Regions from separate parts of the Homo sapiens genome. Here region 2 is linked to region 1. Evidence: promoter capture Hi-C in 16 types of primary human blood cells and fetal thymus (Javierre and others, 2016). All regions are on one chromosome and are shown on one strand. The core of a region is centred on a gene start or on the middle of the fragment in contact, and the rest is flanking DNA. Distances in the headings are between cores, read along the strand shown.

Evidence for each region. Contacts are between HindIII fragments. The CHiCAGO score rates a contact against its expected background, and 5 or more counts as called.
Region 2: a fragment that was not itself captured here is called in contact with the fragment with the promoter of SAMM50 in region 1 in 1 of 17 cell types (non-activated CD4 T cells); the score reaches 5.1 in non-activated CD4 T cells.

Annotation. Positions count from the first base shown.
Region 1 is chr22:43,954,109-43,956,808 of GRCh38, reverse strand. It overlaps SAMM50 (SAMM50 sorting and assembly machinery component), which reads right to left and starts at 1,367. Exons shown (of 15, transcript NM_015380.5): 1 at 1,211-1,367. The coding sequence starts at 1,231. RefSeq lists enhancers at 623-832, 638-1,389, 1,513-1,592, 1,673-1,722, 1,390-2,142 and a silencer at 1,275-1,549. The HindIII fragment of the contact is 6,277 bases long and covers 1-2,216 here.
Region 2 is chr22:45,173,223-45,175,991 of GRCh38, reverse strand. NUP50 (nucleoporin 50) reads right to left here. Exons shown (of 8, transcript NM_007172.4): 4 at 1-98. Among named protein-coding and RNA genes, the nearest start is that of NUP50, 11 kb to the right of the region's middle. The HindIII fragment of the contact is 4,030 bases long and covers 1-2,769 here.

The sequences.
Region 1 (2,700 bases), core at 118-2,617:
CTGATGCTGCCAACCAGTTTGAAGACTCCTCCCCGCAACAGAGGAACGGAATCAGCATGAGAAGTTTCCTCATCTCCCTGTCCCATAACTTCACCCTTCACTCTTCCACCAATCAAGGATCTCCACACTTCAGCAAAAACATGAGGTCCAAACTCCTGAAGGAGATGGATTTGAGGTTTCCTCTCTTTTCCCATCTCCTCGTTCAGCGGCCCTGCAACTGAAACTCTTTCTCTGCTGCAACCCACTGTCTGAGTGTATTGACTTATCGAGCACACTGAGCAACAGACCTATTACAGTTACACAAAGAGATGTCAGAAGAGAAACGGTGTTTGATCTGAATGAAAGACATATAAAGGGAAGTTAAGTCCAATTATCGATGTCAGGCTGCGACTTCTGTGCTAAATTTTTTTGGAAGTTAATGGGGAACTACTGAAAACGTCTATGCAGGTCAAGTGAAGCAATCAAAGTTGCAGTAGAAAAGTAGTGTTGGGGCTGAGACTCAGGAAATCTGAGGTTTTAGGCCATTTGGAACCAGTAACTATGTGACCTTGGAGAAGTAACTCATTATCTGGCCCTTATTTAAGATTAGGATAAACGAGAGGAGTTTGGCAACCAGTACAGTTAGTCAGGCGCCAGGCACCCAAGTATTCACATGCATTGTCTTTTAATTCTCTTTTAAGCCAGGCGAGGTAGGTACTATTACTACCTCCACTTTAAAACAGGAAGTAAGGCAGAGAGCGGTTCCGTCTTTTGCACGGTAGACAGGAGAAAAGAGGACCCCTAGATAGGTTTGAGTTAGAAGACTTCAAAGGATTCTTGTTGCTCTAGGAGCCTACAATGGCTCCAGCAGCGGCTGAGCGGGGAAAGGCTGGAAGTGACCAGTAAAGAGAGAAAACTTAAAATCATGCAAAGAAAGAGCACATTCACTGCGGTCTAAGACATCACAGAAAGTTGGCAAGTCCTTTGGGCCACGGACTCGCCGAGTGACCTTTAGCCAAGTCTCGTCCCTCCTATCAGGTTCCTGCTCGAAGGTCTGCAAGACTCGCTGGCCCGAGGCGACCTCTTTTCGGCCTCCTCCACCCAGCCCGGCACCCTTGGCACCCTCTCTCCCGGTGAACCCTGGGCGCAGCCACGAGAGCGTCTCCCCGCGGCGCCCGTCTGCCCTGCTGGCCCAGAGGCCTCGCAGCCCGCGGGTCGCTGGGCCTCTTACCCGGGCGTGCACAGTCCCCATGGTTCCCTCTCCAGCCGCTGCCTCGCAGAGCTGCCCGGGCGGGACAGAGCGTCTGCTGCTGAGGGCAGAAGGCGGGTCCGCGGTGGCGGAGCTGCAGGTCAAGGCAACTCCCACAAACCCCCGGACGCGGAACACTGGGGGCGGCCATGATTCCCCGCCTTCTCCGCGCCCCCTGGCTCGCGATGCCTTCGCTCATTGGTCCTTATGCGCCTGTGACCCGGATGTTCACACGGCCGCGGAGGACGTTCTGACTGCGCAAGCGAAGAGCGTTCACTGACATCCGCGAAGCTGCTGGCGCGTGGACTGTGTGGGGAGGGCGCGTGGGGTGAAGGTGGGTCTGCGAGAGGGTCCGCTGGGAGGCTGGCGTCTGGCGTTGGCGCCTGAAAGAGATCAGACCAGCTGTTGGGTGTCACTCAAGTCCTGCTGCTCTTAGCCCTCCTAGCACCCCCGACCCGAGGGTGCTGTGCTTGTGCCCACGCGCCGGTGAAGCCCCGAGACTCAGCGGGGAGACCCCGGGTCCGGCCACCCCCGAGCTGCAGTAGTCGGGTCTCACCGGCATCTGCTACACAAACCCGGATTGGTGCCCTGGCTCCTTTCGTTCAAGTCATTGGAACCCCCACTCAAAATCGTCAAAATGAAGACGATGGTCGTGTCTCCTTCTTGGGGGTTGGATTAAAAGGGCCTAATGTGAGAGACGGAAAGCAAAGCTCCCGGCACCGGGCCGGGCACACGGTGGGCGCTAGATAATGACCGCTATTCACTCAACTGCAGCCAGTAATTATGGGCGAGGGCCATCTAGGTGCTTGCATGAGAACCAGTCATATCGGTGAAGAAGACGGCCATGGGCTTAGGTTTTGGTGGCAAAACAGCTCCCCTGCCCCAAAAAAGAAAAGAGAATAGAAAAGAAAAAGGCATAATAAATATCAGCCACACATTGTGATAAGTATATTGAAAGAAACGAGACAGAATAAGAAAAGAGGAAGCTTCAGTATCCTGTCACGTTGCCACTCCCTTCTGATAACAGAAGCATCTTTTCTTCTGTCCCCTTACTCCCTCCCAGAAACCCTGACACCCTTTCCATTTAAATAGCAGCACCCTAGGCCTCCAACATCCCTGAGCTAAATATTCAAGTCCACATGTCCCTTCTTGCCTGGAAAGAGACAGAACCCAGCACCAGCCAGGCCCCTGCCCTTCCCTCACTCTCAGTTCCCTGAGCCTCAATTCCTTATCTGTAAAATGGAAATGATAGCCTAAGGCATAAGGTCTGAGGACCTCATGAGATCAAGCATGGGGCCTGGCACTCTGTAAACATCGAATCAACCAGATTTTCTTTGCCCAAACAGCCCTCTTTTCTTACACTTTCTTCCTCGTTATTCTTCTGAGTATGCCACTTGTAAAGGATAAGCCATGAGGTTGCCCTGCAGAGTGCAAGATGGTTGCAATATTTGAGAGCCTATTGTGTGTGAGGC
Region 2 (2,769 bases), core at 142-2,641, 1.2 Mb before region 1:
GGCTTCCCTCCAGCGCCACTACCAAATCCAGAAAAGCGTCCTCCTCCAGAAGGTACCACCAAACCTTTAAAACCTTTAAAGGCTCCTCCAGTGTCAGACTGAAGTATGAAGGAGGAGCACACATTAGGTAAGTGTACTTTCTATTACCAAAAAGCAAGTGAGTGACAACAGCATCTTGGCTAAACAGCACCTAGACTCCACATGCAGTCAGCGTTATAAGGCAAACTGCTGGCACAAGCAGAAATAAGAAATGAGATGGGAAGATTGTATTCATAAGAACAGCTTTGCAACCCAAAGCTGCTTTCCTGAAACAGGCAGGAAGGACATTTAAAAAATATATTATGTGTATTTTTAGGACATAAAAGGTAAGAAAGACTAATGCAATAAACCTATGTACCCACCACCCAGCCTCAGAATTACTGAAGCGGCTCAATAAAACTAAATCCCAAATGAAAGATACTTCATGTACTACTCAGTCAAAGACCATTTACTGCCTAAAGAAATGATAAAAACATCAAGGTAGGTTAACTAAAAATATCCATTTGCCTAATTTCTTAACATCTGTGGCTTGCAACTGCTTTCAGCCTACAAAAACTTAGATGATCGAGTCTCAAATCTACATGTTCCTGTTAGCTGAACAACCCGGGACAACTTCTTACTCTCCTTTTCCTCACTGCTTCCTTAAACTCGATTGTTTTAACAAGGTTTTTCTAGTAGGCCTTTTCCCTTTGTGCTAGCCTGCTCACATCTCTAACCTAAGATGCTCTGGAAATGTGTGGCATTCCGTATGAATTCTAAAGCTCCTCTCTGCCCCTGGAACTTTTGGAGAAAGGTTCCTCGGTTTATAGTGCTTTGCTAAATAAACTCACCACAATTTTTAGAAGCCCTTTTTTGTTGTTGTTCGAAGAAGTGATTACATTATAGGAAGTGATCTGCTTCTTAGACCGAACATCTAAGAGACAGTTCACAAATCTTAAGTTTCCACATGAGTGAATTATAACCATGATTTCACCAGAAAAAAAAAAAAATTAAACTGGAACCCCTTCATTTACTAAATGGGCCAGTCAGCCTAAATATTACTGCATGTTTTTCCAAAACCAAAGTTTCAATCTCATCTACAGAATTTCAGATGTTTACTGACCACTGATATATTTAAGGCAATAAAATGAGGCAAAGAATGGAAAATTGTAACTTGTATGAGTTTTAATGCACATAATAAACAGAGCTTAGATTCTGTTGCTCTACATTTGATTTTTCATCATTTAAAATTCCAAACCCGCCACACTGATAGCTGTCATTTTAAAACAATGATTCATGGACAAACTATAAAGCCATTAAGTGGCTTTTCAGAGCCTCCGATTTTGCACAAAGTTAAAAGTCACTTGTAGGGATTTTAGAAATTGCTGATAGTAAATTGGCTCTAGAATCACAACAAAAATTCAAGAACCACAAGTTAAACAAAAAAAAGATATTCAGAAAAATGAGAGTAAAAGTTGATTAAGATATTCATCAAGGGGCCAGGTGTGGTGGCTCATGCCTATAATACCAGTACTTTGGGAGGCCGAGACATTCAGGTCACTTGAGCCCAGGAGTTTGAAACCACCCTGGGCAACAGAGTGAGACCCCCTGTCTACAAAAATGCAAAAATTAGCTGGGTGTGGTGGCGCATGCCTGTAGTCCCAGCTACTCAGGAGGCTGAGGCAGGAGGATTGCTTCAGCTCAGGAGGCGGCGGTTGCAGAGAGTCAAGATTGTGCCACCGCACTCCACCCTGGGCGACAAAGACCCTGTCTCAAAAAAAAAAAAAAAAGGGAAAATACCCATGTGGGCTCCTCCATGGGCACTGACACAGCCCCACATCCCTCAATTTCCCTCATTGGTTTTACTGTTCCCCATGGCACTTACAGAGGAAAAATTAATACTATGTATTTGTTCTCTTCCATAGGGCAAGATGATTTTGGTCTTTTTTACTCACCAATACATCTCCAGTGCTTAGCAGATCTACTGAATCCACTATTTAGGAAAAGCCGCATTTCAGCATTCTGGTGGGTGACATGACATTTAATTGTCCTAATATATGAAAACTTCAGGCTAAGAGTTACAGCTAAAATTATCTGTGGATTTCTATTATCCACCTACACTTAATTTCCCTTAGTTGCCCAAGGGCTCCTGCCCTCTCCTTCCCTCATCCCTTCAGCTTAAGTTGTAGATTATGGTCTGTACTATTTCTACCTCTTGAACTTCCTTCGGTTGCACAGGTGACTGCCCCTCCTTCAGAATGGCTTCCCTTGGCTTCTGCAGTGAGCTTTGTTTCTCACTCCTCGTAGGACCCTCCACCTGCATGCCTCCTGTCGCCCATTCCCATGGCCTCAATCCCCCACATGACGAAAGCTGCCGGAGCTGTGCCCATCCTTGCCATAATTCCTGTTGTATACCTAGTGGTCTTCCAGGGCACTCCACTTGAGTGTACCAAGGCCTTTCAAATACAGCATTTCCAAGACCAACCATTTCCTCCTTAATTAAACTGTCCCTCCCCCCATGTATCTTCCCAGTGAAAGAGCCATCAAATATCACTCAGCTCAACACCTACGTCTACCACCTAGTCACCAGTCAAGGCAATTCATAAAATCAAACCAGACAAAAAAAAAAAAAAAACACCTGAAGTTCAAGAGGTTTACTGTACAACAGGCAGGTAGAAATGTATTATGCATCTGAAAATAAGACCATGTTGTACACCATAAGTATATAATTTTTGTCAAATAAGAAATACA